2 separate regions of the Homo sapiens genome follow, and region 2 is linked to region 1. The links are contacts of gene promoters, found by promoter capture Hi-C in blood cells and fetal thymus (Javierre and others, 2016). All regions are on one chromosome and are shown on one strand. Each heading gives the region's core, a stretch centred on a gene start or on the middle of the fragment in contact. The rest is flanking DNA. Distances are from core to core; before and after follow the strand shown.

The links. The method cuts DNA at HindIII sites, captures the fragments that hold promoters and counts their contacts. A CHiCAGO score of 5 or more calls a contact.
Region 2: a contact is called between a fragment that was not itself captured here and the fragment with the promoter of USF1 in region 1, in 2 of 17 cell types (naive CD4 T cells and naive B cells). The highest score is 5.9, in naive CD4 T cells.

The regions. Positions count from the first base shown.
Region 1 is chr1:161,043,001-161,048,275 of GRCh38, reverse strand. USF1 (upstream transcription factor 1) reads left to right here and starts at 2,299. Exons shown (of 11, transcript NM_007122.5): 1 at 2,299-2,418; 2 at 4,916-5,008. The coding sequence starts at 5,001. It overlaps ARHGAP30 (Rho GTPase activating protein 30), which reads left to right. Exons shown (of 12, transcript NM_001025598.2): 12 at 1-1,330. The coding sequence ends at 561. RefSeq lists enhancers at 1,449-2,329, 1,940-2,419, 1,532-2,731, 2,330-3,210, 3,270-3,499. The HindIII fragment of the contact is 1,293 bases long and covers 1,870-3,162 here.
Region 2 is chr1:160,683,758-160,690,212 of GRCh38, reverse strand. CD48 (CD48 molecule) reads left to right here. Exons shown (of 4, transcript NM_001778.4): 2 at 5,024-5,326. It overlaps LOC124904439 (endogenous retrovirus group K member 18 Env polyprotein), which reads right to left. Exons shown (of 1, transcript XM_047438433.1): 1 at 1-6,455. Among named protein-coding and RNA genes, the nearest start is that of CD48, 25 kb to the left of the region's middle. The HindIII fragment of the contact is 715 bases long and covers 4,848-5,562 here.

The sequences.
Region 1 (5,275 bases), core at 1,050-3,549:
GGCCTGGGTGGCGTGGGCATGCGTCTAGCTTCCACTCTGGTTCAGGTCCAACAGGTCCGCTCTGTGCCTGTGGTGCCCCCCAAGCCACAGTTTGCCAAGATGCCCAGTGCAATGTGTAGCAAGATTCATGTGGCACCTGCAAATCCATGCCCGAGGCCTGGCCGGCTTGATGGGACTCCTGGAGAAAGGGCTTGGGGGTCCCGAGCTTCTCGATCCTCTTGGAGGAATGGGGGTAGTCTTTCCTTTGATGCTGCTGTGGCCCTAGCCCGGGACCGCCAAAGGACTGAGGCTCAAGGAGTTCGGCGAACCCAGACCTGTACTGAGGGTGGGGATTACTGCCTCATCCCCAGAACCTCCCCTTGTAGCATGATCTCTGCCCATTCTCCTCGGCCCCTTAGCTGCCTGGAGCTCCCATCTGAAGGTGCAGAAGGGTCTGGATCCCGGAGTCGTCTTAGTCTGCCCCCCAGAGAACCCCAGGTTCCTGACCCCCTGTTGTCCTCTCAGCGCAGGTCATATGCATTTGAAACACAGGCTAACCCTGGGAAAGGTGAAGGACTGTGATTAGGACCACAGCCCTGGGCAAAGGGGACCAGCAAGTTGTCTTGAATCTCCAGGGTTCCTGACTAGCTGTCTCCTCTGCAGCATGAGCAGCTGTAGTGCCCAACTCTATAGGCTTTGGCCCTCCAGCTTCTCTCTTTGACTGTGGGAGGCACTGCCTTGGTTGGTTTACCTGAACTTGTCTCCGACACAAAGCACTTATCTCTTAGGAGATTCCCAAGAAAGTCAACAAGATCTTGTTCCCAGGGAGTGGGTCATTGGCCAAAGGGAACATAAGGTAGGCAGAAAACTTAAAAGAGTTTGTTAAAGTGAAGACTGGAGAAATTCCTCCCTTCCTCTGAGCTGTGAATCTCTCTTCATGAAAGCCAAAGGTAGAGACAGGGAGGACAGGGCCAGGTTAGGGCCTTCCACACACAAACACTTCTAGAGTTGCCCATTCCTGTTATGTTCTTGGACCCTAAGATACCTCCTGTCCCTTTTAAATCCAGATTAAGAGAAACGTCCAGGAAGAGCTCTTTGAAGCCCTCAATATTTGTTGGAGGGACTGGACTCCTCTCCAGCTCCCCACCCTCTGCCTCCAGTCACCATGTGCAAGAGAGGTCCTGTACAGATCTCTCTGGGCTCTCCTTTCTCCTTTGGAATAACTTGTTCCTATTTCAGGAAAGGGAAATGGTGTCACTCAGGCCCTGGGACTGCTTCTCCAGCCAGGCTGGGGCCACAGGTCCCACTCTAGTGAAGGTCAATGTCTCAGAATAAAAGCTGTATTTTTACACATAGTGTGGAGTCTCATTATTCTTATTAAAGTCTTTGGTGATAGGTATTATATCTTCACATATTTGGCAAAACATTCTTTTTCTTCTTCTTGTTTGGGTGCTCTTCCTCAGTTGTTGTCATGGAGACTAGTGGCCAGAAACTAGAGCTAGGTTCATGGTGGTCAGGAAATAAGGAAGAGAAACTTATATTTACATAATGCGTTCATTATGTGCCAGGAACTGGACTAAGTATCCTGTGCTCACAAAATCTATGTCCTTGATTTTATTTAATCCACACAATTCTGGAAGGTTGGTGCTAGTATCTCCAGTTTATAGATGAGGAAACTAAGGCTCAATTAAGTCAAAATGTTTGCCAAAGGTCTCAGAGGTAAGAAGTGGCAGAGATGGGTTTGAAACCTGGATCTGCCTGGCCCCCAAGCTTGAATTTTTCCCATTATACCACACTACTCCAAATCCATTCAGGGTAGGTCTTGATTGAGAAGAATGGGAATCAAGATTCCTGTCACAGAAGGTGTGAGCCTTTAGAACACTAGAAGCTTTGGGGTCTTTGGATGAGTGACTGCTGACGCGAATAACAAGGAACATATCCAATTCTATGCATGCCCCGATAGGTCGTAATCTCTAGCAGGTAACCTTTCAAAAAGACGCCCTGCGCCAAGATGGCCTCCCAAATAGCCCTTGTTAAAGATGGCGCCTCCGTCGGACGTCCCTCCCTTGATCTCAGCTGGATTCTCTTCTTTCCTGGAATGAAAAAATGCCCTGCCAAGCACTAAGATATTAGTACAAGTTAGTCGTCTCTTTCCCGTTCTTGTCGAAAGTGGCCAGGCCTTCAGCTACATTCTCCAGGACACGGCTTCTTTCCGGCTTCACAAATAACCCACAAACACCAACTCTCATCAAGATGGAGTGAGCGGAAGTGGGGCAGTTCTGAGTTTGAGTTTATGGGCGGGGCGAGAGCGACACTTCCGCCCCTCACCAACATGGCCGCGGGCTGGAAGTGCGCATGAGCAGCTGTCTATGGAGATACCTAGGCCGGGAGAGGGAGAACACAGTTGGAGAAAATCGGCAGCTGAGACGGCCTTGGCCGGTGAGTGTAGGACCGGGCAGAAGTCTGGAAACTGGGTGGACTGGCAAGGCAGGGCAGCTTTGATTTTGTTTCCGTTTTTCAAGTTAGAGAACACTGCTGGGGAGGAAGCCTTTGTTTTGGGGGAGGGGGCTGTGCTGGTTCTTTATCTCATACCCTGCTTTGTGGGCCAAACTCTCTCCCTTCCCCAGAGCGCGAGCGTCCCAGCCCTCCTGCGCTGTCCAGCTGCGCGCCGCAGCCGCCGGCACCGGGCGCTTGAGCTCCCTAGTCCCCGAGGCCCTTTCCTGCCTCCTCCGCGGAGCAGCTGGGGCGCGGGGCTAAGACTGCGGGGCTGCGGGGTCACGGCGCAGGCTCCCGGGCTCGCGCCTGGCGGGCGCTCAGCTCCGTAAGCGCCTTCTGGTTGGTGAGCCTGCAGGGAGACGCCTCATTCTAAGGCAAGGTCTAGGTGCCTGACTTCTTTCGGGAGTTGATTTTTTTTCCCTTTGTGTCCAGACTTAGCAAGGGCTCTTACTGGGCCCTTCTGGCCTGAGCGTGCACACCACAACGTCCCATCCCTGTTTCCGTGTCACCGATCCCTAATGCCTAGGAAATGCTTCCGGATGTCCAACTAAGATTTGAATAAGTACCCTGACCCCGTTGCTGGGTGTCCTCAGAGACTGCCCCGGCTGACAGCTGTGGCCAATAGAGATGCCTCCTGTGCCGGGCCCTCTATTTCATTGCCTTCCCCTGCAGTCAGCGCGGCAAGCTTCGCAGGGCATTTCCTCTTCAGGTTTGAAGATGGAAATGTAGGTGGTCCCAAAACACTAGTGCTACTTCCCCTTATCGACTGGGATCTCCTTGCAGCGTTACTTCGTCTGTACGGTTTCACTTTCAGTTCCTTTTTCAACATTTTCCTCGGACGCGGTCTTTCCGAGGCTTATCCATTGAAAATTTTCCTTGGATAGGAAAGGTTTGGAGGACCTTATGGGTAGAGAATTTCCAAAAATCTTGCCCCTTTTGTGTTGGGATTATCTTATTGCTTTGTACTGTGTAGCTGTTTCTTTCTGGAGGCATGTCTGCCCAGCTCTTTGTTTTTCCTGCCCTCTGGCTGGGTGTCAGGGTCCTAAGGCAGAGCTTGTAGGTGGATTCTTCCCCCTTTGTCTCTTCTTCAGAACCCTGTTTTTTTTTTTTTTACCCCTTCTTGCTCAGGCTTAGTTGATTTGGAGTTGTCATAGCAACATTTTAGCAACAGTGTTGTTCTGCAGGAAGGCTTGATGAATAAAATAGAGAATGCTTGAAGAGGATCCACTTGGGCTTTAGGGTTTCTAACAGATTATATAAATCTGGATACCCCAAAACAAGAGTCCTGTCAGTAGAATGGGGCCCAAATGCCAAGTCTAGTCTTTGTGGTCAGGGATATTCTTCCAGTGGTAGTGGGCTTCAGATTTCCTCTTCCTAGGTTTGAAAACAGAAATGTCTTGATGGACAACATGTGGCTGAGAAACTGGAAGAAGCATCAGTGTCCATGACACTGTATTTTTTGATGGTGGGGCCAATACATGGCCCTTCCTGATTCCCATGAAGCTGCCATCATGGCAGGTCATAATAGCTTTAATGATCCATTTAGAGATGTGTTGTTGGCTGGGTGCGGTGGCTCATGCCTGTAATCCAAGCACTTTGGGAGGCCGAGGCAGGCGGATCACCTGAGGTCAGGAGTTCCAGACCAGCCTGGCCAATATGGTAAAACCCCATCTCTACTGAAAATACAAAAATTAGCTGGGCGTGGTGGTGGGCACCTATAATCCCAGCTATTCAGGAGGCTGAGGCAGGAGAATCACTTGAACCCAGGAGATGGAGGTTGTAAGCCGAGATTGTGCCACTGCACTCCAGCCTGGGTGACAGAGCAAGATTCTGTCTCAGAAAAAAAAAAAAAAAAAAGAAAGAAATGTGTTGTTTCGGCCAGGTGCAGTGGCTCACACCTGTAATCCCAGCACTTTGGGAGGCTGCCGAGGTGGACAGATCATGCTCTCAGGAGTTCGAGACCAGCCGGGCCAACATGGTGAAACCCCGTCTCTACTAAAAATACAAAAATTAGCCAGGCGTGGTGGTGTGCACCTGTAATCCCAGCTACTCCGGAGGCTGAGGCAGGAGAATCACTTGAACCTGGGAGGCAGAGGTTGCAGTGAGCTGAGATCGCGCCACTGCACTCCAGCCTGGGTGACAGAGAGAGACTCTGTCTCAAAAAAAAAAAAAAAAAAAAAGTGTTGTTTCTGTCTTCCAGTATAATTATCCACTCTCCACCAGGAGTTGGAGTGATAATGGAGGGATGGGGAACACTATTTGTAGCCTTGCTTTTTCAATCACTGTAGGCCAGTCCTCAACATCAGTATGGTGGAGGCTGATTGTCCCCTGCAGATGACTGGGTTATTTTCCTGGCTATGTGTTCATGGAACCTAAGTTCTAGAACCAGAGATACTGTTCTGTTTCCTAAACTCATTGCAAACTTCATGATTTCTACCAGGACTTAGCACTCAGGCCTGTGAATCAGGAGATACAAAGACCTCCAAAAAAGGACCAGTTCCTCGGATGTGCCCCCTCACAGAGAGATGAAGGGGTGAGTGAAGAAGAGGTAGGGTCTGGGATGAAAGATGGGTGGCCTGGAAGAATGCAAAATGACCAAGAGCACTGCCTCTGGAGTCAGGCAGACCTGGATTCAGGTTCTACTCTATCACTTACTGTGTGATTTGGTTTCTCTATCTATAAAATGGAAGTAGTGCTATCTATCTCGTGGTGCTGTTTTTAGTACTAAATAAGATTACATGTAATGTACTTAGCTTAGTGCTTATGTACATAGTAAACAGTAAACACTAGTTGTTATTCT
Region 2 (6,455 bases), core at 3,956-6,455, 360 kb after region 1:
TCAAATAAAGACAGACAATGCCCCTGGATATGTTAGTAAGGCTTTTGATTCATTTATACAACAGTAAGGAATTTCCCATATTACTAGAATCCCTTACAATCCTCAAGGACAGGCTGTGGTGGAACAGGCCAATCGCACTTTAAAAACCCAATTGTCCAAACAGTCTGAACAACCAAAACATGATTTAACTACTCCACACTCCCAATTACATTTGGCATTATTTACTTTAAATTTTTTAAATGTTCCTAAAGATAATACTGTAACTGCAGCCAAACGCCATTATACAGGCAAAAAATTTTCCATAAACGAAGGCAAGTCAGTGTTATGGAAAAACTCTCAAACCAATACCTAGGAACCTGGCACAATTATAACGTAGGGAAGAGGATATGCTTGTGTTTCACCAGGAGATCATCAATCCCATGTCTAGGTACCCACCAGAAGACTCAAGCTTCAGGTGAATACTGACAACTAAAACCACAGACAAAAAACATCTGTGTCAGAGATTGCCTTCAGACGTGGTGAGATCTCTGCTGACTCCTCAGAAACAGGCACACCAAATCACAATAGGTGTAAATCAATCCTCCCTGATGGCAGTGGAGACCCATCTAACTAATCCCACTTCTCCTGATTACTTTTCTTTTTCTCCTTACAAACCTAAAAATCTCACCATTTCTATTAGCCTGAAAATAACATCCCTCTGTTCTTCTCTTCCTCCTTCAGCACTCAATCTCACTTACACTAGGTTTTATTTAATGATTCTCCTCCTTATACTTTCTGTCTCACCAGTTTCCTCTCACACTGATTTACCTGCTACACATAATTATTCTTATTAGGCTTATGTGCCTTTTCCTCCACTTATTCGACCTCTCACCTAGATAGATGCTCCTGCAGAAATCTACACTAATGATAGTGTGTAGATGCCTAGAGCCACAGATGACCGTTGCCCTGCTCAACCAGGAGAAGAAGGCACTGCATTTAATGTTACCATAGATTATAAATACCCCCCTCTGTGCCTCGGACATGCACCTGGTTGCATCCACCTAGAAACTCAATTCTAGGCTGCTTATCTTCCGAAAACATCAGCTACAGATAAAATAGGACATTTAGTCTCTGGCCTCTCCCTTTCTCCTTTAAAACAAATGAAAGGAGAAGTAATGGGAGATACCCCATACTTTCAATATAAACCTGCAGGAAAACCATGCCCTAAAAATTTTGAGGGCCCATCTAAAACTTTAATTTAGGATGATTGTGTTAACTCACATGCAGTAATATTAAAAAATGACTCATATGGTTTAGTAATAGACTGGGCACCAAAGGGCTATTTAAAAAATAATTGCTCCTCTAGTGGAAGGGAATTCCTGGAGGCTAATTATTTTATTTCTTATCAGGAGAACGAGAATCATCATTCTACTTTGCATAGGAGGATCAGCTCATTCTTTCCCTTAAAATGGGAAGATAAAGGCATTACCCGCCCCCCAAGCCTCGTATGATACTCCCCATTCTGAGCCCAGAACACCCAGAACTTTGGAAATTGGCTATTGCCATGTCTGGACTGCGAGTATGGGAAGGGAAAACTATTTTGACTGTTGTTCCCACTACTGTCCCACTCTCTCAGTATCAACATAGACCCAGACATTCTGCTTTACTTACCTCCAACCTGACTATTCCCATACAGAGTTGTGTTAAGCCTCCTTACATGCTGTTAGTAGGAAATATTAAAATTTGGACAAATAATCAAACTTTCCAATGCATTAATTGTCATCTATACACTTGTATTAACTCCCATTTTGACTCCAGGAAAAGTGTAATGTTGGTTCGAGTTTGAGAAGGAATCTGGATTCCAGTAACTTTACCTAGACCTTGCGAATCCTCCCCCCAATACATTTAATTAATGAAGTGCTACAGCAAATTCTAAAAAGATCTAAGAGATTTGTTTTCACTTTAATCGCTGTTATCACGGGCCTAATTACAGTCACTGCAATGGCCACCACTGATGGAATGGCATTACATCAATCTATTCAAACGGCTCATTTTGTTAATGATTGGCAAGCCAATTCCACCCAAATGTGGAATTCTCAACAAGGCATCCATCAAAAATTGGCAAGTCAAATTAATGATTTAAGACAGTCTGTTATTTGGCTTGGAGATCAGGTAGTGAGTCTCAAACATCACATGCAAATGCAGTGCGATTGGAATACTTCAGATTTCTGCATCACCCCGTATTCCTATAATGAGACTGATCATTCATAGGAAATGGTCAAAGGACACCTTCTAGGTAGAGAAGATAATTTATCATTGGACATAACTAAATTAAAGAAACAAATTTTTGAAGCCTCTCAAGCTCACTTATCCATCATGCCTGGAGCTGAGGCATTAGATCAGGTGGCAGAAAATCTTTATGGATTAAACCCCACTACTTGGATTAAGTCTACTGGGGGCTCCACTGTAGTAAATTTTGGAATATGTTTCTGTGTTTAATCAGCTTGTTTTTAGTGTCCCAGACCACTCAAAGAATCCTGTGTCAAAATCAAGAGAATGAACAAGCCTTCATTGCCATGGCACATTTATATAAAAAGAAAGGGAGAGATGTTGCAGGAAGTCAGGGACCCCAAATGGAGGGACCGGCTGAAGCCATGGCAGAAGAACGTGGATTGTGAATATTTTATGGACATTTATTAGTTCCCCAAATTAATACTTTCATAATTTCTTATGCCTGTCTTTACTGCAATCTCTAAACATAAATTGTAAAGATTTCATGGACACTTATCACTTCCCCAGTCAATACCCTTGTGATTTCCTATGCCTGTCTTTACTTTAATCTCTTAATCCTGTCAGCCAAGGAGGATGTATGTCACCTCAGGACCATGTGATAATTGCATTAACTGCACAAATTATAGAACACGTGTGTTTAAACAATATGAAATCTGGGCACCTTGAAAAAAGAACAAGATAACAGCAATGTTTAGGAAACTAGAGAGATAACCTTAAACTCTGACCACCGGTGAGCCAGGCAGAACAGAGCCATATTTCTCTTCTTTCAAAAGCAAATGGGAGAAATATCGCTGAGTTCTTTTTCTCAGCATGGAACATCCCTGAGAAAGAGAATACGCGCCTGGAGGTATAGGCTTATAAACAGCACCCCCAGGTGCTCCTGTCTCTTATGGTCGAAACTGCAGAGGTGAAATAGACTCCAGTCTCCCATAGCACTCCCAGGCTTATTAGGAAGAGAAAACTCCTGCCTAATAAATTTTGGTCAGACTGGTTGATCTCAAAACCCTGTCTCCTGATAAGATGTTATCAATGACAATGGTGCCCGAAACTTCATTAGCAATTTTAATTTCACCTCGGTCCTGTGGTCCTGTGATCTCGCCCTGCCTCCTCTTGCCTTATGGTATTCTAATACCCCGTTAAGTACTTGATGTCTGTCACCCACACCTATTTGCACACTCCCTCCCCTTTTGAAAATCTCTAATAAAAACTTGCTGGTTTTTGTAGCTTGTGGGGCATCACGGAACCTACCGACATGTGATGTCTCCCCCAGATGCTCAGCTTTAAAATTTCTCTCTTTTGTACTCTGTCCCTTTATTTCTCAAGCTGGCCAATGCTTAGGAAAAATAGAAAAGAACCTATGTGAATATCAGGGCAGATTCCCCGATAGCTGCTTAGTTCATTGATGTATCCCAAGTGTCTCAAATAGTGCCTGACAGATAGTTCTTAACAAATATTAGCTTTTAATCACCCTTTGGCTTACCCTAGTGGTCATCTCCTCCAAAGAGATTTTTCTTAGTATTTTCTCCATTTTCTATCCCTACCCTCCGGATAGGAATATATTCCCATAGCACACTGTGTTTATTGTCAGGAGTCAGGAAATGATGCCCTAAAATGATGGCCTCAGAAGCAGCCTCAGAAGTGAAAGTTTTTCTCTGACCTTCTCCTGCCCTCCTGTCTATCAGTCCCATTCTCCCCTAGGCTAGCCATAGACACTGGAATCCCTCTTTCCCAAGGTGGGCCATAGAAGCCAAAACCCCTTTTCCCCAAAGCCAGCCATAAAATTTAAATATACCACCCTAACTTTCCTTGAGCCTTTCTCTGTAAAAAAAAAATAGCTATAAAGAAATTATCTGACCTATCTTGTTTGATTGTGAATCATAAGACCCCCATTCTAGAGAGGGCCTGACCCACACACGGGAGGAAGGAAAGAATCTGGCACAGAAAGGCCAAGCAGAATCTAGAAAGATAGGCCTTGCTGGGTTTCCCGCAGTCAGTCTATTGGCATTCAATCATACCCTTTTTGTCCAATCATATTTCTCCATGACTGTCCATACTTTGTTGAACCTAAGCATAAAAATGGACAATTTGCCCTGTATCTTTGGCTCTTCATTAGGAAGGCTCTGCTTACACGTTAAATTGATCTGTATGCCTTTCCTCCTTAATCTGCCTCTTGTCAGTGATTTTTGGCAAACCTTCAGAAGGTGAAGGGGAAGCTTTCCCTTGGTCCCCACGTTACCTTTATTATAGTCATCAAGATAATATATTAGGATTATTTGTTTGTGTGTTTGTCCTCCCACATTGGTATATTAAATATTTTTAAACAGAATCATGTACTTTTTATGTCTATGCCTCTAGGGACTAACAACATGCTTACTGAAATGAGAATAGACAGGAAACACAAGACCAGAGCAGAGATATGACTTGTCATCAGTTTATTTGAAAGTCTACTGGTATGAGAGTAAGGGAGAGAGCCAGGCCCAACCTCAGTTGGCCTTACTCAATTCTTTCATTTTCTGGGGACAGTACTAGATTAATTATAAGCAGCATCCCCTTCCCCCATGCCCACTTTTCAAGCTTCAACTTTTCTTGAGTTCCTAAGCAGGAGACCTGGACCTCCAGTGAAAACCATACTCACTGCTCCTAAGCAGAAATCCCTTCCTTCTCACCTGTTCCACCAGCCCAGGCTATACCCTGGGCCTGTCAGCAACACTGCCTCCTCTAGCGCAGGTCTCACTCTGAATCTCATTGGCAGGTCACTTGGTACATATGACCGTGGTCTCCGGCAGCAACGTGACTCTGAACATCTCTGAGAGCCTGCCTGAGAACTACAAACAACTAACCTGGTTTTATACTTTCGACCAGAAGATTGTAGAATGGGATTCCAGAAAATCTAAGTACTTTGAATCCAAATTTAAAGGCAGGGTCAGACTTGATCCTCAGAGTGGCGCACTGTACATCTCTAAGGTCCAGAAAGAGGACAACAGCACCTACATCATGAGGGTGTTGAAAAAGACTGGGAATGAGCAAGAATGGAAGATCAAGCTGCAAGTGCTTGGTGAGTCAGGGGAGCCAAAGAGCAAATCCCCACTCCAGTGGCCCCAGATGGACCACTGTAGGGCTTCCTGGGAGGCATGGGGCACTCTCGGGGAGGAGGAGAGAAAAACCTCAGGACAGGTTTGATTCATTTTTCCTTGATCCAATTCTATTTGGGAGTGAGCCTAGGTCAACAGATATCCAAATTAACAATCTTAGGACATTTAACACCTCTTCTGAAGTTAGTGAGTCTAAGCTTTGAAGAGAAGGAAAACTAGAGATTTTTCCTATTTCCTTCATTTTGTCCTGTGATCAACCTAAATCAGCTCAGCTCATCTTGATTATATCTCCGAAATTAGGCTTCATTGGACTTAAGAAAAAAGAGAATGTATTAATATAAAGAATGGGGCAGGAGTTATCAGGAGAATTTTTCAACTTTCATAATGGGCAGGACAAAAAAACTTCCACTCATAGCTCCAGTCTAACCAGTGTATATGGAATAAGGACTCAGGCATTATACCTGGAGCCAGACAGACTTGGGTTCAAAACTGGTCAGTTGCTCACTAGCTGTGCAGCCTTGAAAAAAGATCTTCACATCTCTGTGCCCATATTAGGTAAGATTCTTTTGATAGCAAATAACAGAAACTAATTCAATGTACCTTTACCAAAAAAGGAGAATTTAGTTTAAGAAACTAGGGCTATTTAAAGCAATTCAAAGAGTTTAAAAGAGCTAGGAAGGGCTTAAGGGGAGAAGATTGAAAACCAGGTTCGGGCCAGAACCCCTAGCTTCAGGAATCTGTGGACTGTGCCTATGGATTTGGATTCCTGCCATTTTACACATGTTATCTCTCAAAACTTAGACTTTTGCTCCTCTGAGTTTCAATTCTCAGGGCAATTTAAAGAGAGAGAAACTGATAGTCCCAATTTAGTTCAGGTGTGTGTACCTGATCTAAACATTTTTGGTGAAAGGATCAGATTATAGGGCAGAAACATGGATATGGGGAGGGGCTCCAGGGGTTGGGGTATGCAATTCTTGTAGAAGAGCGGGGCTAAATAATCCAAGAGTGGTGTTCCCTTGAGAGCCTTGGGTTCTTCATCATATTATGAGAATAATTCTACTTACCTTTCAGGATGTTATTAGAGTCAAAGTA